Linked DNA regions of Homo sapiens: all the other regions are linked to region 3. The links are contacts of gene promoters, found by promoter capture Hi-C in blood cells and fetal thymus (Javierre and others, 2016). All regions are on one chromosome and are shown on one strand. Each heading gives the region's core, a stretch centred on a gene start or on the middle of the fragment in contact. The rest is flanking DNA. Distances are from core to core; before and after follow the strand shown.

What was found. Contacts are between HindIII fragments. The CHiCAGO score rates a contact against its expected background, and 5 or more counts as called.
Region 1: a fragment that was not itself captured here is called in contact with the fragment with the promoter of SLC43A1 in region 3 in 5 of 17 cell types (non-activated CD4 T cells, erythroblasts, total CD8 T cells and 2 more); the score reaches 8.7 in non-activated CD4 T cells.
Region 2: a fragment that was not itself captured here is called in contact with the fragment with the promoter of SLC43A1 in region 3 in 1 of 17 cell types (neutrophils); the score reaches 5.7 in neutrophils.
Region 4: a contact is called between the fragment with the promoter of ZFP91 here and the fragment with the promoter of SLC43A1 in region 3, in 4 of 17 cell types (naive CD8 T cells, non-activated CD4 T cells, naive CD4 T cells and 1 more). The highest score is 14.0, in naive CD8 T cells.
Region 5: a fragment that was not itself captured here is called in contact with the fragment with the promoter of SLC43A1 in region 3 in 3 of 17 cell types (total CD4 T cells, naive CD8 T cells and naive CD4 T cells); the score reaches 7.5 in total CD4 T cells.
Region 6: a contact is called between a fragment that was not itself captured here and the fragment with the promoter of SLC43A1 in region 3, in 2 of 17 cell types (activated CD4 T cells and naive CD8 T cells). The highest score is 5.7, in activated CD4 T cells.

The regions. Positions count from the first base shown.
Region 1 is chr11:58,597,876-58,601,261 of GRCh38, forward strand. All of the region lies in intron 2 of ZFP91 (ZFP91 zinc finger protein, atypical E3 ubiquitin ligase), which reads left to right. The region is part of intron 2 of ZFP91-CNTF (ZFP91-CNTF readthrough (NMD candidate)); the gene reads left to right. Among named protein-coding and RNA genes, the nearest start is that of ZFP91-CNTF, 20 kb to the left of the region's middle. The HindIII fragment of the contact is 1,645 bases long and covers 567-2,211 here.
Region 2 is chr11:58,558,616-58,561,841 of GRCh38, forward strand. The region is part of intron 3 of LPXN (leupaxin); the gene reads right to left. Among named protein-coding and RNA genes, the nearest start is that of LPXN, 16 kb to the right of the region's middle. The HindIII fragment of the contact is 8,448 bases long and covers 1-3,226 here.
Region 3 is chr11:57,513,604-57,516,951 of GRCh38, forward strand. SLC43A1 (solute carrier family 43 member 1) reads right to left here and starts at 2,099. Exons shown (of 15, transcript NM_003627.6): 1 at 1,841-2,099; 2 at 355-521. The coding sequence starts at 508. RefSeq lists an enhancer at 2,253-2,322. The HindIII fragment of the contact is 5,778 bases long and covers 1-3,348 here.
Region 4 is chr11:58,577,686-58,581,076 of GRCh38, forward strand. It overlaps ZFP91 (ZFP91 zinc finger protein, atypical E3 ubiquitin ligase), which reads left to right and starts at 1,378. Exons shown (of 11, transcript NM_053023.5): 1 at 1,378-1,937. The coding sequence starts at 1,597. ZFP91-CNTF (ZFP91-CNTF readthrough (NMD candidate)) reads left to right here and starts at 1,429. Exons shown (of 13, transcript NR_024091.1): 1 at 1,429-1,937. It also overlaps a transcript of LPXN not described here. RefSeq lists enhancers at 132-211, 232-751, 370-1,062, 782-1,011, 1,756-2,447 and a silencer at 1,432-1,851. The HindIII fragment of the contact is 10,569 bases long and covers 1-3,391 here.
Region 5 is chr11:58,527,464-58,530,714 of GRCh38, forward strand. LPXN (leupaxin) reads right to left here. Exons shown (of 9, transcript NM_004811.3): 8 at 580-728; 9 at 1-260. Among named protein-coding and RNA genes, the nearest start is that of OR5B21, 21 kb to the left of the region's middle. The HindIII fragment of the contact is 4,221 bases long and covers 1-3,251 here.
Region 6 is chr11:58,636,316-58,639,651 of GRCh38, forward strand. No RefSeq gene overlaps it. Among named protein-coding and RNA genes, the nearest start is that of CNTF, 15 kb to the left of the region's middle. The HindIII fragment of the contact is 3,239 bases long and covers 390-3,336 here.

The sequences.
Region 1 (3,386 bases), core at 139-2,638, 1.1 Mb after region 3:
CTTCTTGGAAGCACTTCCAGTATCACTAGTGGCAACTCTTATGGGTCCCGTAGTGTTAGTCAAGGTTTCAGGTATTGCTCTAAACATAGTGAAAAATGAGTTAACTGAGAGATACCACTTCTACTGTGACAGTAAATTCACTCAGGTGGTGATGATTATCCTCATGACATTTTAAGCAGATACTTGAAACAGCTGAGCTTGCTGCAATAGCAACAGGAGATAGCTATGAAATTATTATGTACGGAGTTAATTTTATGCAGTTATTCATTAGTACATCTTTACGTTTCTTTACATTTCTCTGGACTTTGGATGATACCATATATAGTCTAAGACTTTGTGTGTGTAAGTTTTGTTGAATTTTAACTTTTTATATTTGTGTATATTTTACAGTAATGTCATCAAATAGAGTGGTATCTATAGTTTATGCATTCATGACATAACTTAATTTTTCAATATTTCTAGGCTACACAGTTTGTCTGCAAGTTTTTTCAAATTGTCACAAATCTCCAAAAAATTTTCTTACATATTTTAAAAAACTGGCGTATGAATGGATCCATGCAGTTCAAAGCTTTGTTGTTCAAGGGTTAACTAACTGTAGTTATATTCACTGTGCCTGCATGTTGCTCATGCAGTGACTAGTATGATGTCTTCCTTTACCCAAGCTAGTATGGCTTTTTTCTCTTATTATTTATGTATCAAGGAACCTCCTCAAGGTTAGCTGCTATTATAAGAAACAACTGGAAATTGTCTTTGAAGTACCACACAGAAGAAACTTGGCTTGTTTCCTATCTGTTTATGATTGTTTATGCTAATGTATGGATTGTCCTTCAGTTGTCAATTTCTATTCCAGAAACCTGGCAATACTTTTGTGCACGTGTGTGTGTGTGTGTGTGTGTGTGTGTGTGTGTGTGTTTTGAGGTGAAATTCACATAACAAAAAAATAGTAAAAAATACTTGAAAGCATACAATTCAGTGACATTTGGTACATTTACAGTGTTGTACAACCATCACTTCTATCTAGTTCCAAACATTTTCATCACCACCAACAAAGGAGACCCCTGTACCCATTAAAAGCAGTTATTCCCCCTTCCCTCCTGTTCAGCTGCAACAAACATTAATCTGCTTTGTCTCTATGGATTTACCTATTCTGGATATTATATGTAATTGGAATCATACAATATGTGCAATATGTGACTTTTGTTTCTAGCATCTATCATATAGCATATTTTTAAGGTTCACATTGTAACATGTTAAGATTGCATTCCTTTTTATGGCTGGATAAAAATTTTCGTTGTATGTATATATGACATTTTGTTTATCCATTCACTGGTTAATGGATATTTGGGTTGTTTCCACAATTTGGGTATTGAGAATTGTGCTTCTATGAATATTCATATGTAATAAGTATTTCTTTGAATAGCTGTTTTCAATTTTTGGTGTATGTACCTAGAAGTGGAATTGCTGGATCATATGGTAATTCTGTGTCTAAGTTTTTCTTAACATTTTTCTTAACACTGTTTTCTTAGGTTTTCCATAACACTGTTTTCCTCATTAGCTGCCTCATTTTACATGTCCACCAGCAATAAACAATGGTTCCAATTTCTCTGCATTCTCACCAACACTTCTTATTTTCTTTTTTTATTATTTTTAGTTAGCCATTGTAGTATGTGGGAAATGGTAATCTCATGTGATTTTGATTTGCATTTCGTTAATGACTGATGTTCCGTATCTTTTCAAGTACTTTTTTGGCCTTTTGTATATCTCTGGAGAAATAATCTGTTTAGGTTCTTTGCCCATGTTTTAATTGGGTTGTTTCTCTTTTTGTTGTTAAATCCAAAGACTTTATATATTTTGGATATTAGACTTTTACCAGATATATGACTTGCAAATATATTCTCCCATTCTGTAGGGTTATCTTCACTTCTATGCATTTTTTAGTGCTAGCTCCTGTGTTTAGGTCTTTGATCCATTTTGAGTTAATTTTTATATATGGTATAAGGTAGGAATACAACGTCATTTTTTGCATGTGGATATCCATTTGTCTTAGCACCATTTCTTGAAGAGACTGTTTTCACCTACTGAATGGTCTTAGCCACCTTCTTAAAAATCAGTTGACCACAGATGTATAGATTTATATCTGGACCTTTAATTCAGTTAGTTGATTCAATTATTATTAGTTTTATGCCGGTAATACATTGTATTGATTACTGAAGCTTTATAGTAAGTGTTGAAATTGAGAAGAAAAAAGTGCGTCTTTAATTCTGTTTGTTTTCAAGATGGCTGTGACTAGTGTAGATCCCTTGCATTTTCCTGTGAACTTTAGGATTGGGTTGTCAATTTCTACCAAAAAGGAAGCTGGGGTTTTGATAAGAATTACAGTTAATCTGTGGGTTTATTTTCAGAGTATTGTCATCTTAACAATTTTTCAATATTTTATTCCTTTTTATTCTATTGTAAAGGTAATCATTTTCTTAATTTCCTTTTTGTTCATTGCTAATATACTTAAAACAATGAATGTTATATGTTGGTCATATATTCTGGCACTTTGAATAAAGGTAATAATTATTTTCTTAATTTCCTTTTTGTTCATTGCTAATATGCTTAAAACAATGAATGTTACGTGTTGGTATTATATTCTGGCCCTTCGAATTTGTATATGACCTTTAACAGTTTTCTTTTGTGAAAATTCTTTAGAATTTTCTATATGTAAGGTCTTTTCACCTGCAAATAGAGATACAGTTTTACTTCTTCCTTTTCACTTTGGGTGCCTCTTTTTTTACTTGAGTAATTACTTGGCTAGAACTTCCAGTACAGTGTTGAATGGAAGTGAAGAATGAGGGCATCCTTGTCTTGTTCCTGACCTTAGCAGGAGAGCTTTGTCTTTTACCACTGCGTATGATGTGAGCTCTGGGGTTTTTAAAGGTGTTCTTTGTCAAGTTGAGGAAGTTCAATTCTATTCCCAGTTTTTTGTGTGTTCTTATCATGAAAGTTTAATTTTGTCAGGTTCTTTTTCTTTTTTCTACATCAATTGAGATAATGGTGTGTTTTTTCCTCTCTTTATTAATGTGGGATATTACATATGTTTTTGTATATCGAACCACCCTCATAATCCTGGGACCTGTCTCAATTGATTATAGTGTTTAATCTTCTTAATATGATGCTATATTTGGTTTGCAAGGGATATTGGCTTATGGTTTTTTGTGGTGTCTTTGTCTGGCTTTGGTGTCAGAATAATGCTGTGTTTATAGGATGTGTTGGGAAGTGTTCCATCTTCTATTTTTTAAGAGAGTTTGAGGAAGACTGGAGTTAATTCTTTAAATGTGTGGTAGAATCAACCAATGAAACCATCTAGAGGCTTCTGGCCTTTTTATTGGGAGCTTTTTGTT
Region 2 (3,226 bases), core at 638-3,137, 1.0 Mb after region 3:
AGATTAGAAAACCCAGAAACAGGCTCCTGCACCTAAAAGAACTTCCTATATGAGCAATGGGGCATTTCAAATCATCCAAAACAGACTATTCGACTCAAAGAATAACAACCTATTTGGTACAAAATAAATATGGATCCCCAACACACCAAATACATGAATAAATTTGAGACAAATTAAAGATAGATATCAATATTTTTAAATGTAAAGATAATAGAAAAATGAAGAATATATTTTACAATTTGGGGTAATGAAGGTTTTCCTAAGATGGACATAAAATTCTGAAGTGATTTCAAAAATGAAAAAAATATTGATACAGCTAAGTTCACAAAACTTAAATATAAATAAATATTTAAAACATAATATTCAAGATTTTAAAGAAATGTATAAATAATTTAGAAAAATAGAAACCTGAGCTAAAGATTCTTTTAAAAAGCAGGTTTCAGAAAAAGAAACTCAAATGTTTATTACTATATAAAAATACCCTCAACCTCATTAATCTTTAAATTTGCAATTTAAAGCAATGAGATACTAATATTTACCTATTAGTTGAAATTTTAACAGAGGGATAATATGCAGTGTTGGCAAAATATGAATTTTATATATATACACATACACATTTATATATACCATAGGTGGTTATATAAATTTATAAACACTTTTGCAAGGCAGTATCTATCAACATTTCAGACACATATACCACTTGATTGAGCAATTTTGCTACTAAGAATCTATCCTACAGAAAAATTGGACATATATATATAAATATATGTGCAAGGACATTTATTAGGGTACATTTTCTATGAGCAAATTGGAAATAAACCAATGGAGCTAAAGTAAAATAAATAATGGTTCATCCATGCTATAGAATAACATGCAACTGCTAAGCAGACATAGATTTAAGTGAACTAAAAAAGACTTCCAACAAACATTGTTAGTGTAAAAAAGAAAAGCCCAGAACAATACGAAAATTATACTTCCAGCCTGGTGCAGTCACTCATGCCTGTAATCCTAGCACTTCAGGAGGCTGAGGTAGGAGGACTGCTTGAGCCCAGGAGTTCAAGACCAGCCTGGGAAACATAGGGAGACTCCATCTCTATGAAAATTTTAAAAATTAGCTGGGTGTGGTGGCACATGCCTGTGGTCCCAGCTACTTGGGAGGCTGAGATGAGAAAATAACTTGAGCCCAGGAGGTCAAGGCTGCAGTGAGCCAAGATAACACCACTGTTCTCCATCCTGGGCAATAGAGACAGACCCTATCTCAAATTTAAAAAAGAAAAAAATTTACTTCCATTTATATAAATTTATAAGCCCATGTACATAAGTATGAATATGCACACACATAAGTCTGTAAGGAGAAGAACCTGACAGCAGTTACCTGTGGAGCTGGTAATGAGTTGGTGAGAGGAAAGACTCTAAGAGGAGTGGTCTCAATTTTCACCCTATGTATACATTTCCAAATTCTTCGACTTTTTACGCACATGAGTTTATGAAATAGTTTTGTATCTTAAGTTATATTTTTAAAACAAAACAAAACACAGGTCATCTATACTAGGAAAATAGCTAACACACATGGCCAACAGATGAAGTGGTGGAGGTGTCAGATGAGACATCAGTAATGCAATTCACCTGTATATCTCAGTTATTATACACACACATACACACACAATGGTTCTACAAACAATCTTCAGTAAAGTACATAAATATAGTCACAGTGTAGAGCTTTCTATTTAAAATTGTTCTAAAATATAAAATTAACACATGTTAAGTGTAGAAAATTTGAAAACTGCAGAGAAATATACAGAAAAAATTTTAAACACATATAATCCCCTTTTCAGGAGGCATTTACTCTGGACATTTTGGCTGATACCATTACACTTAACTATGATTGTGTGTAATTTTAGAAAACTAAAATTATACATTTTTCCTACTCTTATGCAAACATTTTTCTATCTTCTGCAACCATAATAGGTAGCATTTATTGAATGTCTGTCTGCACTATGCCTGACACTCTATACAGAGCTTTACACAGGTTCTCTTTAAATCTTTTATAATAACAACCTTAAGAGCTAGGTATTATCACCTCCAAATGAAAAACTGGGGCTTAGAGAAGTTAAAAACTTTTTTGTACATAATACAGTTGGCAAGTAACAAAGAGCTTGGGCCTGCAAACTGCAAAGTTTGTGCTGTGTGTCCTGAATTATCTGCCAAAATAATGTTTAAAGGCTATATATTTTCAAATAGATAATGTATTATATAATTTATCAAACTAATAATTTATTGCTGGACACCTAGATTGTTTTCTAACTTTCATTATTATAATCAATACTGCCAAACAAATATTTGCACCCATGTTTGATCATTTACATAAGAGTTAAATTTTAAGAAGGGAAATCACCGGGCCAAAAGGTATAAAAAGGTAACTGACTGTGGAATCATGTTTGTAATCAACATTAATCAACAGAGCTTAGCTAACAACCCACCAAACCAAAACCCTCTGTCTCACGACTACTCAAGCCTTTTCTCTCTCTCTCTCTGCACAAAGATGCAAAGTCATAAATAAAAGTAAATGTTCTGTCTTTCACTTAATATATTTTCAAAAATGAAAACATACATTTACTACTTATCTTTATGTAGTTACCAGCCAGAAAAAAAGTAGAAGAAAAGTTGATACTTTTCTCTCTTAAGAAGAAAAGACTATCTTTTGGATACGACATATCTCATGTCCACTTATTTTTGATCACTTAACAACAAGGAAAATATAAGAGGAAAATGGATATCTCTTAAGATAAAAGATTTATCTTTTAGGTACAACATGGCCCTCTACTAGATGCAAGATTTTTTGTTTTAATCTGAGAGCAAAACCAGTCAAGTATGCAAGTAATTGATTCAATCCATTGTGGATGTTTCCCAGAAGGTACACTGGAGCTTTTTCTCACAGCTCGATCAGTCATAATCCTTTCGTAGCTGCTGCCACAGGCAAATGCCTTGGGAATACAAAAGGCAGCAGGACTGTGAACACATTCTGCTGCCCTATGCCCAAATGCAGAACAAATGCAGTTTCTTAGCAGGGCTTGTATATTCCTAAAAAACCTTCCAATCTCACAGTTGGGGCAAATTTGTGCTTATTCAAAGAATTCCCACTGGTTTTTAACTAGAGTCCTAGTGCAGTGTAGAAAGGGAAATAGATCATTGTTATAATACTCCAACAGTTATTGAGTCAACAGTA
Region 3 (3,348 bases), core at 849-3,348:
TTTGTGCAGCTCTCCCTTGTCTTATGATAGCCCTATTAAGAAATTCCTCTCCCAGCACGTCTCCTTCAAAGAGCTCTAGACCTGAGGCTGTCAGAGGCTTAGGACTCTGCCTATTAGTCCCAGGGTCTGGATGACCAGCAGGACACCTGGCATTCAGTGACCACTGGATTAGATAAATGAAACAGTGGGCAGAGTGCCACCCAATCTCCCCCTGAAGTTTGAAGAGGTCGAGAAGTGAGGCTGTCCAACTGCTGACCCTGCTTTCTGTCCACCTGGCCACCTAACCTTTTCTGGCTTCCACCTGCCCCTTTGCCATCCCTCCCCCCAGCCCACCCAGCCCATTTTCAGGCATACCTGGGCACGTGCTGGAATAGAAGCCCTCGTTCTTCAGAATGATCAACAGGGAGCCCCAGCCCAGGAGTACAGCAGAGAAGAAGAGGTTCTCCAGCACAGCCGTGCAGGCCATCCACCAGCGCCTCCGGTACGCCTGTTGCAGCGTGGGGGCCATGCTGGCCCCGAGCCTGCACAGAAACAGAGCGCTGGGTGAAGGGCCCCCCAGTGGCCCCAGGGAAGGGTCCTGCATCATGGTGGCACCCGAGACCTCTCGGGCCAGCCCGCGAGGAGCCCCTCATGGAGGCCCCATAGAGCCCTGGGCTTCCCAGCCGGTGCCAAGGAGCTGGCTCCGCGCGCACTAGCAGTGCCAGAGGTGCACGCGGCACGGGGCTCCCGCTGAGCCACTATCGGAAACAAGGAAGGTCCTGTCTGCGCGCTGCAGCTTCCTAGCAGGCTGCCGGGTTCTCTCACCCAGGCCAGGGCGCTCAGGGCCGGGCTGCTGGGGAGAAAGTCCGCATCTGCCCAGGTCCCCAGAGGACAGCAAGGGGCAGAGCGCGCTCTGAAGCACCGCGGGCCCATGTCCGGACTCTCGCGCCAGGAAAGACCCCTAGAAGCTGGCAGGAAGAAGGGCAAGTTCAAGGCTACCCTACGACCCCATCTTCCAGTTGCCCCTCCAAGACCTCTCCTTCCCTCTGGGGCCGGGCGACAGCAAGCCCTCCCCCTTTCCGTATCAGGTGACCCACGACCCTACAGTCTCTCGGGCCAAGCCAACAGCTGCCACGTGGAGGGAGACCCAGGACGGGCTCTCCTCGGTTCCCTCCTCCCCCGCGCGCCCCTCACTCACTCCGCAGGGCTCGGGGCACCAGGCTTTGCACCTCGGAACCCGCTTGCCCCCCTCCAGCCCCGGGAGGGGGCTCGGACTTCGGCAGGAAGTCTGGCGGCTGCTGACTTTATAAGGGCAGCGGTGGCGGATGGGCTGGCGGGCGGGTGTGTTTACCAAAGGGAGGGAAAGAGCCCCAGCTCCCCCCGCCGCGGCCGCTGCAGCCTCGGCGGGAGGAGAGGGAACGCGGGCGGCGCGGGGGCGGGGAGCGACAACTGGGATGAGACCGAGGAAAGCGGAGAGGAGAAGGGCAAGAAAGACCCAGAGAGAGGGGAGGAAGTACCAGTCACTTCTTCCAGGGGGACTCGGTATTCTCATCTGTGAAACGGGGCTTTGGGTTCAAGCGCTCCAGGAGGTCCGCTGGAACTCTGGCAAACGCGCAGCTCTAAGCAGAGGAAGTGCAGCGAGCGGGGACCCGGGAGGAAGAGAAGAGTCGGAGGGGTCAGAGAAAAGAAAAGGGAAGGACGCGCTTGGCGAGATGGGACACTGTGCCGCGGGACCGCGGGCGCAAGTAACGGTCTTTCCTTGGGAAGCCTGGCAGTGTCGGCGGGAGCCGGCCTCGGTGTCTCTCAGCCGACGCATAGCCGGAGACCCTACGCGCGCCCCCTCCCCGCCCACGCTGCTCACCTCCGGTCACCGGCAAATGAGCAGCCAGCAGCTGCGGACGCCTCCGGGAGCGCAACGCTTTCGCGGCGCGTCCGGAGTCCCGTGGGCCCAGCCCTGAGCCGCGCCGGCGCTGGGGTCTTCTCTGCGTGCAGGACCCGGCGGCCACGGAGCTTCAGCCTGACAGCCCGGTGGCCTCGCCTCCGCTGTCTCCTCGGAAGAAGCGGGGGAACTGGGAACCCGCCGGGCGCCAGAGGTCTGCGAAGCTGGGCTTGGATGAAGTGGATCTGCGGAGTTGATAGTTGTATTTACACGCGTCCGGAGCTGCGCCCCGAGGTGGGGGCGGGGGCTCCCTTCTTTTCCCCTCCCCTTAGGTCGAGTTTCACGCGCACGTGACTCGCCCGCTGGTCCCGGACACTCTCCCTCTGGCACAGCCCCAGCACCTACATTTCCACCCTGGACCCCCATCTTCTCCCCCAAGCCCCCAGACTAACATCAGGCAGCGCCCTCTGTATCCTTGTTCAAAACAAAGTGCGATTCGGCTGAAGCCGACTGACCGCGATTCAGGGCCGCCTTGGGTGGGGTTTTGAACTGTGCAGCTGGAAGCAGTGTTTTCCGAGAGGCAGAGTGGCACGGGTTTCTTTGGAGTTAGTCAGATCGAGGTCTGAGTCTTGACTTTTTAACTGACTACCCTGGGTTACCTAGGGCAAGTTACCTCTCTGAGCCTCAGCTTCCTCCTCTTTAAATTCGGTTAAAATGGAACCTACCTAACTGCCCAAAGGAATCGCGATTGTGATGCAGGTAAAATGCTAAGCATAGCATTTGGCATAGTAAGCATAATGTTAATTGTTGCTGCTGTCATTATTTCAGAAGACCTGGTGATCGGATGCTTCCAGATCAACAATTGATTGACTCCAGGTAAATCTCTCAGCCTCCCTGAGCCTCAGTATCCTCATCTGTAAAATAGACTACTATGGTGTGGAGTAATGAGAAGTAATCTCATTACATGTGAGTTTAATTGTGTGTTAAGAGTGCTGCTAATGCATGCTGAGCTTAATACCTAGGTGATGGGTTGATAGGTGCAATAAACCACCACGGCATACATTTACCTACGTAACAAACCTGCACATTCTGCACATGTACCCCAGAACTTAAAATAAAAATAAAATTTTTTTAAAAAAAGAGTGATACTGGTGGCCAGGTGTGGTGGTTCATGCCTGTAATCCCAGAACTTTGGGAGGCCAAGGCAGGAGGATCGCTTGAGCTCAGGAGTTCGAGACCAACCTGGACAACATGGTGAAACCCCGTCTCTACAAAAAAGAAAAAAAAATAGCCAGGCATGGTGGTGTGCACCTGCAGTCTCAGCTACCCAGCAGGCTGAAGTGGGAGGATCACTGAGCTGGAGAGATGGAGGCTGCAGTGAGCCAAGATCATGCCACTACACTCCAGCCTGGGTGACAGAGTAAGACTCTGTCTCAAAAACAAAACAAGAATGACTACAGAAAGCTCCAAGAAGGCCTCAGATAAAAGGG
Region 4 (3,391 bases), core at 128-2,627, 1.1 Mb after region 3:
TGCTATTGTATAAACCGCAGAAGCAGATGGCTTCCGGCCGCAGAGCTTAAGAGACCCTTCAGCTTCTCGGTGTAGGTCACCAGTCATGTCACGCTCACAACCCTTTCGCCTCCCTCTAGGTCAGGCACCGCATCCAAGTTAAGCAACCGACGCCGGCTCCTTGGTGTCCCAACAAGGTCTAGTAGAAAAGCAACTTTATAATTCGTTTCACAGATTTGATTAAGAGCCAACTGAGTAGTGGGCCTTGTGCTAGGGCTCCGAGGGCCCAAGGACCCCATGGAACCAGATTTAGTCGCTGACCTCTAGGAGCTCACAGGTGAGTGACTCACACACCGGAAGACGAGATCAATAATGTAGACATGAACGCTGGCTAGCCAGTCCCAGAGGAGGTGTCATCTGACCAAACCAAGGCAAGTCTGGGCAGTTACGCAGACACCCCGAGAAAGGTACGCCAACGCCCAGATAAAAAGTAAGAAAAAGTAGGAAAAACCCTCCCATCAGACCAGCAATTGGCTCGACGCTTGAGCCCGGATGTACGGCACGCGTCGCGACCTAACCCGGAAACACTGCCTCCCGAAAAAAAGGTAAACTCTAGACTGCGGAAAGTAAACTACCTTTCCCGTCGTGACTCAGTTAGAACCTCCCGGCATCCTCTCCACCTCTGGTTTCCCATCTATTTTTCCTAAAGCCTAGGCGAAATAAGACTTCATCTCCCAGAATGCCCTTGGTTAAGTTAACGGTGCGCATGCGCCAAGAGGCGGGCCCTCGTTGCCCCCACAACCCCGCCTCCGTTTTGCCGCCGCCATTTTTTCAGAGACTTTCATCCGGCAACCGACGGGGCTTTTTTTCTTAAAGGAGAAGCGACAGCTCAAAATACTACCCCCTTCTCCGCGCAAGATCTGGCGGCGCTGGGGACAGAAAGGCCAAAGACAGGAAAGTGGGGTAGGGTGGAGGCGGAAGAACGCCCAGGCTACTTCTGCGGCCTAAAGAAGAATAGAAAGAGCCCTTGTGGTATCAGTGGCTCCTCAGGGAGGCAGGTGCGCGCGCAGCCAGTCTAGGGTTTGCGTGAGGCGGGGAAAGAGGTGCGATTTCTTCTCACCCGCCTCCCTCGCGAGACCTGCCCCTCGCACTGCCCCTAGCGCGCGTTGAAGTCTGGAGGGGGGAAAAAGGTCACTTTGGGATTGTCGCGAGACACAGCCGTTTAACGGTGAGAACGGGTGCGCGGGGAAGGAAACCTCGCGCGCTCCCCTTTTAGCCGTTTCCTGATTGGCTGAAGGAAGGGGTGGGGGAGGGAACCTGGGGCGCCGCTGCGTGTAAGACTGCGAGGGGCGGGGTGAGGAGGCTTGTCCTCTTTTCCGATTGGCCCGCTGAGCGTCTGTGGCGCGCGCGCGCGCGCCGCCAGCGGTAGCGGACCTTGAGTGGCAGGGGGTGGGGGGGGCGCCCTCGGAGCCGGGCGGAGGGGAGGGGGGAAAGAGGAGCGCAGGGTGAGAGTGAGCCGCAGGCTTCGGGAGGCGAGGGGGCGGGGGGAGCAGCGCCGAGGCCGCCGCCTCCGCCTCCGCCGCCTAGGACTAGGGGGTGGGGGACGGACAAGCCCCGATGCCGGGGGAGACGGAAGAGCCGAGACCCCCGGAGCAGCAGGACCAGGAAGGGGGAGAGGCGGCCAAGGCGGCTCCGGAGGAGCCCCAACAACGGCCCCCTGAGGCGGTCGCGGCGGCGCCTGCAGGGACCACTAGCAGCCGCGTGCTGAGGGGAGGTCGGGACCGAGGCCGGGCCGCTGCGGCCGCCGCCGCCGCAGCTGTGTCCCGCCGGAGGAAGGCCGAGTATCCCCGCCGGCGGAGGAGCAGCCCCAGCGCCAGGCCTCCCGACGTCCCCGGGCAGCAGCCCCAGGCCGCGAAGTCCCCGTCTCCAGTTCAGGGCAAGAAGAGTCCGCGACTCCTGTGAGTAACAGTCTTTCAGGCGGTGGGAAAGACCCCCCTCTGTCCGTACGCAACCCTCTCGGCTCCCGTAGCGCCTACTCCACGTGACATCCTGCCTGGTCTGCCCCCTGCCGGCTCCGCACGCCAGATGTCACACCGTTTCCCCGGGAGCCTTCGTGCCTCCTCTCTGCGCCACCCTCATCTCGCTCCTGTACCTTCGCTTGTCGGGCCGTTTCCCCACTCCCCGAAATCATCTTTTGATACACCCCTGCACTCGCTAGTGATCCACCTCCTCCCTGACACCCGCAGGCTCATCCCTCTTTCTGGCATCCGCACCCCCTTTGTCACCCTATCCCTTTCCTTTAGGCGGCTCTCCAGTATTACATCACATGCCCTTTAGGGAATACACAGCCCGATCATAGCCTTCAAAAATGATTCCCCCCCGCCTTCGCGTTAGCTCAAGAGCCAGATGTACTAGTGTGTTTATGTAGCTTTTTTTTTTTTTCACTTTTCTAAATTTTTCGCAACCCTTCTCATTCTTTTGAGAAATTTGCCACTTATTATGGTCAGGTTAAAAGCCCACTGCTACGATTTTAAGTATGGAGTCTTTCATATAAAATTATATGAGCATTCTTTAATGTTTGTTTTTACTAAGTAGCATATGTTTTATCTTTGTGTTTCGTGTTTTTAAATGTAGGAACTTCATCCTTGAAATTAGAATCATCTGAGAGGAATTCCTTTATTACCTAGACGTAATAGAGGAAACATGAACAGGTGGCCAGGAGCATTGTCTTAAATTGTTCGTTAAAATAATACTCATGTTAAGAATACTGAAGCACACAAGTTTGTAAATTCTAGAAATTAATCACATTGACTATTCAATTCATGACTGAAAACATCATTAGTGACCTTTGATTTTTGAGTGAAAACAGATTAGTAAAAACAGAGAAAATTGAAGTGAGGGGGAGTCAGTTTTAAGTGTTCCCTTTCTTCCAGTAGAGATAGTGGCAAGGTTTGACTTACACCAGACCTAATAGATTTAAAACTTGAAACAGACTTGGTCCAAAATTAAGAGTTAAGCCTGTGTCTTGGCATGCTTGCCTTAGAAGCCTCTCAGAAAGAGAAATAAAATTCAGAGGTAATCATATTGTGGTATTAGATATGCTTTCAAATTTTTGAATGTCAGCTAAGTTAACATAATTTAGAGAATTTGTTGTAAGAACTGCAGTTCTGTCGACAGCAAAAATCTGTACTTACAGATTCAGCTGCAATTAGACTTCTAATTGCTGTAGATGCATTTCATCTTACAAAAATTTTATAGTTCTATATTGTTTAATCTCATGAATTTGAAAAGATACATGTATATCATTGACCTCATTTGGATATGAATTCCGTGAGCAAATTCCTTAACCTACCCATGCCTTAGTTTCCTTACCTATAGAGGATAATCTCTGCAACGTGAGTTTGTGAGAATT
Region 5 (3,251 bases), core at 16-2,515, 1.0 Mb after region 3:
AAGAGCTTATTGAAGCAAGGTTGACAATAGGTCTTGTCATTCTGCTCCCTGAAAATGCCCTTCGACAACTGTGTCAGGCAGAAAGCACACACAAAGTGCTCAGGATGGAACTTGTACCCCATGGCACTGATACAACGGCCAGTGATGGGCTGCCCACACCCATGGCAGAGCGTTCCCCGGCGGTGATGGTAATGGAGCTCACAGAATGGACGTCCATCCAGTTCAAAGAAGGAGCCAGTAGAAAAACTGGTGAAGCAGTCCTGGGGTAGAGAGAAGAGAGAGAAAAAGAATGCAAATGTCAAGAGGTAAAATGTCAGCAAAGTAAAATTTTCAGCCTTGAAATTCCTGACAGTTACCTGCCAGCTACAGGAATTTCCCTCAGGTTCTTGACAAATGGAGACTAGATTTCCCGCTTGCAAAACAGACAAGCAAATGGATCTGTATCTCGTTTCTCCTTTAGGATGCGCACATCCATTCCTCATTCAGGACTGTGAACCCTTTCACTAACTGCAGCTCTTCCTCTCAGAGAGGAGAACCCTTGACTTTCCCTAAGTCCGAAAGAAAAGTGATTATACAGACCCCACAAACAAAGCACTCTGGGTGCCAGACAGTGTCCATGGCTGAAAGGTAGTTTTCCAACACTGGGCGATTGCAGCCACCACACTTGGGTGAGAACATGGCTAAGAAATCCTTTCGGCAATATGGCTTCTTGTCCTTCTCATGAAAGCCTGGAGAGATAAAATCAGGAATTCACTGTTGCAGGTTGAGCCCTGAAAGCTACACTGGAGACTGAGAGGAGGCCCTTTCAATCTCAGTGTCCTCATATTCAAAATAGGATGATTACTGTTACCTAATTCAAAGGGTAGTTGTAAGAAATAAATGAGATAATGCAGAGGAAGTGTTTTGGCATTGTGTCTGGTTCATAGTAAACATTTAATAAGTGTTAGGGGCTATTGCTCCTCAGTGCCTTTGTACTAAGTATTCCCTTGGCTTGGATAGTTCTGTCCCAGAGCCTGATATAGTTGTCCTCTTCATGTGATGCAAGAATCACTCAAATATCATCTTATCAGAGAGGCATCTCTTCAGTCCCTCCTTGTCACATCATCTTCTTTCACCGTCTTTATGGCATTTACCTTTATTTAAAATCATCTTTGTGGGCTGTCTCCCCTTACAGGAACATTAGCTCTGAGAGAAACTAGATATTGTTGATCTTGTCACCATTATATCTCTAATATCTAAAACAGCATCTGGGAAGAAAAAAAGCATCTGATATTTTAAAATAAAATACTACTAAATAATAATTTCCAGATGGATGCAAGATCTAAACACAATGACTCATACCATATATTTGAATTAAAAATAGATGTATTCCTCCTTTTTTTATTTTTTGTGTGGGTATATTATTTTTATTGTTTACCAGCAGTGTATGAAAATCCCAATTATTCCTCAGTCTTTACATCACTTGATATATCCATATATTTCCTTTTTAATCAATCAAATGGATGTTATCTATCTATACAATGTTATCTCATGGTAGTTTTGATTTGTATTTCCCGAAAGGCTAATGATACTTAGGGTTTTTTTAATGTGTGCATTTGCATTTCATATCTTGTCATTAATGATGTATTCCTCTTTAATCTGGAAACAGAAAAACTGTCATAAATAAAGCCCAAATTCCAAAAGCAAGTTAAATATTAATAAATTTAGCTACATAAAAATATATCTGAATGACTTACACATGTCAAAAAATCACCATAAACAAAGACAAATAACAATCTGAAGAAAATATTTGCTAATTATATTCCACTCCTGAGTATATGTATGGTTTCAACTATTGTTGTACATAATTAAAAAGTGAAAAAATTGGCCGGGCACGGTGGCTTGCACCTGTAATCCCAGCACTTTGGGAGGCCGAGGCGGGTGGATCACGAGGTCAGGAGATCGAGACCATCCTGGCTAACACGGTGAAACCCCGTCTCTACTAAAAATACAAAAAATTAGCCAGGTGTGGTGGCGAGCGCCTGTAGTCCCAGCTACTTGGGAGGCTGAGGCAGGAGAATGGCGTAAACCCGGGAGGCAGAGCTTGCAGTGAGCCGAGATCGCACCACTGCACTCCAGCCTGGGAGATAGTGAGACTCTGTCTCAAAAAAAAAAAAAAAAAGTAAAAAAATTAAAATGGAAAAACATGAATCCCTAAAAAATTGAATCAAATTGAAGAAAATTAACTGTATATCAAACTGATGACATGAGCAATAAAATAAATAATTTGGAGATTGCTGGCAGGATGACCGAATAGGAACAGCTCAGGTCTGCAGCTTCCAGTGAGATCGATGCAGAAGGCAGGTGATTTCTGCATTTCCAACTGAGGTAACCGGTTCATCTCATTGAGACTGATCGGACAGTGGGTGCAGCCCATTGAGGGCAAGCCGAAAAAGGGTGGGGTGTTGCCTCACCCAGAAAGCACAAGGGGTCAGGGAACTCCCTCTCCTAACAAAGAGAAGCCATTAGAAACTGTGCCGTGAGGAACAGTGCACTCCGGCCCAGATACTGTGCTTTTCCCATAGTCTTCACAAACCGCAGACCTGGAGATTCCCTCTTGTGCCTACGCCACCAGGGCCCTGGGTTTCAAGCACAAAACTGGGCGGCTGTATGGGCAAACACTGAGCTAGCTTTAGAAGTTTTTTTGTTTTTTGTTTTTCATAACCTAGATGCACCTGGAATGCCAGCGAGACAGAACTGTTCACTCCCCTGGAAAGGGGGCTTAAGCCAGGGAGCCAAGTGGCCTGGCTCGGTAGGTCCCACCCCCATGGAGCCCAGCAAGCTAAGATCCACTGGCTTGAAATTCTTACTGCCAGCACAGCAGTCTGAGCTCGACCTGGGATACTAGAATTTGGTGGAGGGAGAAGCATCCACCATTGCTGAGGCTTGAGCAGGTGGTTTTACCTTCACAGTGTAAACAAAGCCACTCAGAAGATCAAACTGGGTGGAGCCAACCGCAGCTCAGCAAGGCTGCTGTGGCTAGACTGCCTCTCTAGATTCCTCTTTTCTGGGCAGGCCATCTCTGAAAAGAAAAAGGCAGCAGCTCCAGTCAGGGGCTTATAGATAAAACCCCCATCTCCCTGGGACAGAGCACCCAGGGGAAGGGGTGGCTGTGGGCACAGCTTCAGTAGACTTAAACATCCCTGCCTGACAGCTCTGAAGAGAGCAGTGGATCTCCCAGCACAGGGTTCGAGCTCTGCTAAGGGTCAGAC
Region 6 (3,336 bases), core at 759-3,258, 1.1 Mb after region 3:
TTTATTTTTCATTGTCAAATTTTTTAGGAACTGAAGAATATCTGGTTTATGACAGCCCATCTCTATGAGGTAACGAGAACTATCACCAGGCAGGATGGAATTTGGACCAAGAGCAAGGCTAAAGGAGTGAGACTGGGGCTGAAATGAGGAGTGGGCCTAGAAGGTGGGTTTCAGAGGTTTACTAGGTCTTCCTCCACAGCTACTCAGCTCTGTACTCATTTCTTTTTATTTTTAAAAAAGAACATATAGTTTTTTTTGTAAATACATATCATATACAAATTTGAAAAATGAGTTATTCAAGAGGGAATATGAGGACAAAAAAGAAAAGTTGGAACTAAGATTGAGTTTAGCAACAGAAATGTTGTGGAAATGACCAGAATTTGGTTCTAAGCTTTCTAGAAGTCAAAATAAGGCAGAAGACCTCTTCATTTTACATAACTTACAGTATCCAATAGGGGGCAACAACCTAATTGTCCAAGAGGAGCTTGCTCCGGAGAAGACAATGTGTAACGTCCAAGGAACAACTCTGGGCCAGTAGCCCAGCAGTCACCATGCTATCATCAGCTGGGGTGGAATTACTGCAGCCCCTCCACCCGGTGACCCAGGGTTCTAAAAGGAACTTGGAGACCATATGGTTACACATGCTACCACCTCCCCCTTTGCCTTCTCTGTTGTTTACTATTTTTTGGTCAACTTGCCTAGAATATTTTGAGGCAGTGAAAACTAAGTTTTATTCATCTTTGTATTTATGATAGCACTTACAATGGACAAAAATGGGGCTCAAAACGGGTTTATGAATGAAATAATAATACACTTAAGAATCCAAGAGGGGCAGGTCATTTAAAAGAATCCAATAGCTGGTTCCTATCACCTGAGGCTTCATAAGACCTCTTTCTGGTTTTCTCTCATTCATTCAGCTAACTTTTAGAGCACATACCTCTAAAATTTACAGCACCTATCTCAGAGTTCTGTCTGATGCTCTGAGGCTGAGCCCTGGCAGTAACTACAATAAGGACAACACCAACCCTCCCCACACTAAAAGAGCTCTTAGTCAAATTGGAAAAAGAACTCATGCCAAGTGACATGCTCATATAAACATACTGCTAAGGTTGGGTGGTCGTCAAGAGGAGTAAGAGATGCTTTCTTCCTGGGAGATTGAAGGAGTATGTGTGTGTGAGAAGGAGGGGCAGGTAAAGACATATTCTCAAGGGAGCTGACATCTGAACCCAGTCTTGATTAATGAGTTAGACTTCATCAGGCAAAGGCACAGCCAGGAATCACCATGACACATCAGGGGATCAGTGTGTGGAACATATTGGGAGTGTGTCATGGGAGGGGGAATCTGAAGGCTAGCTAGAGATCAGGATGACAAGGGAGGTCAGGGCCCAATGACAAACAGTCATATCAAGGTGGATGTCATACGTTCCAGTTTATGAGCATTGTCCCATATAATTAAAACACCTTTTTTTTTTTTTGGTTTCAACCGGAGTTCAGATTTGGATGATAAATTATATGACTACTCTACTTATAAGATAATCCATTCTCTCTTCTCTCCCACCTTTCTTTTTAAACCTCAGGCCAAAACCTATTCTGCCTTGGCCCCCACCTCACCTTTCTCAGTCAGGGAGCTCAGTTTCCGGAGCCTGGGGATATTTTCAAAGAAATGAACTGAGGCCATCATAATGGAGCTTCCAGTTGCTGTTGAAAGGATTCTCCCAGGCCAGCAGAATTGAACAAATCTATGTGTGTCTGGCTGAGGCCAGAAGGAGTCTGGTGCTCCTGCTCCCAGCCCTGGATCAAACTCTGTTTCTTTCTGGGAAGTCCTTCTTTTCTTTCTCACATCTAATCTTCAAGATGCAGCAGAAATTCCATCCTCTTCCAGAAGCCTTATCAGACATCTCTCAGAATTTGTATCCCTCCTTCATTTTCCCATAGAAAATGTTTGAAGCTGTATCACATTTCACAATGAGTAATTTATATATTAGGTGTATCTGCCCCACTCAACCATGAGCCCTGGTTGGACATCTTTATGTTCTTCATGGTACATAGAACTCTGCCACTCACGTCCTCACATCACCATCAGAATGATCATCATGGTCAATTCCACATCATGACAGCTCAAGGTGACAGGCCAGGTACTATGGGGAAGGGTTTCCTTGCAGTATCTCATTTAATCATCACAGTAATTTTATGACATCAATTTTAATATTATCCCAACTTTAGAGAAGAGATTAATTCCCAGAGTGGTGGGACAATTTGCCCAGGGTCACTGAGCCAGTAAGCAGCAGTGCTGGGACTTGAGCCTCGGTCTGTGTGATCTGACTCTGGGATCTCAATCCTAAAGCAGCAGCAAATCGTCATAGATATGAACTTTCACATTTAGAAAGGCCAGAGAGTGTTCCAAAGTGCTTTGCTTCCATTAGCTCATTTAATCCTCTCAAGTAACCTAGGAATTTGACACACTAACTCCATTTTAAAGAGGACCAAGCTGAGGCACAAAAAACTTGCCAGTGACGAGTATTTGCCTCCACGTGGGTGAGGACATGCTTGCCATACCTGAGCACAAGCATCTCTGCCAGGTACTTGGCCTCCTGGGTCTGGGTGGTTCTCCAGGTGGTTGCTGAGGGTCCGCACATGCTGCGAGAAGCAGGGCTGAATATCAGGGGTTTCTGGGACCTTCAGAGAGTAGATGCTGTGGTGGACCTGCACTCTGGCTGTGACCTACAACCTGATGGAACCCCGGGTTGTACGCCTTGACGTTCTGGCACTTGGCTGAGAACTTACCATTAAGGCTGGGGAGGAAGCGGAGCTTAGCACTGATGGAGCCGCCCAGGCTTTGGTGTAGTTGAGCCAGTGGTCAACAAGCTCTGCCTGGGTTTCTATGACCCTATCCCTCCTGGCACCATGTGCACATGGTCTGGAAAGAGGTGGTTACTTGCTGCAATGCCAGCCCGAGCTCTGCATTACTTAGGTTTTTCTAGCCGCTGTCCAGCAGTTCCCCCTGCACGGACATGTTCAGTGCCTGCTTGCAGCCTTGAAACCCCAGCATCCTCGCAGGCCTCATCATTGGAACCCTCTAGGGGCTCCTCCTTTTTCTGAGACTAGCTACTGCTCTAAATGAGCCTCTGAAATATGTGCTTTATAATCTCATTTACCCTCTCACCATTCTACTTTTGCACATTTGCAAACTAAGACCCACAGAAGTCAGGTAAAATGCCTAAGGTCACAGTACACAACAGAGCTAGCATCTGAATCCAGGTTCTTTGATGCCAAAGCACAATTTCCATTCACTGATCTATGTGTGGTGTTTCTCCTTTCTATTCAGTATCAGTGTCT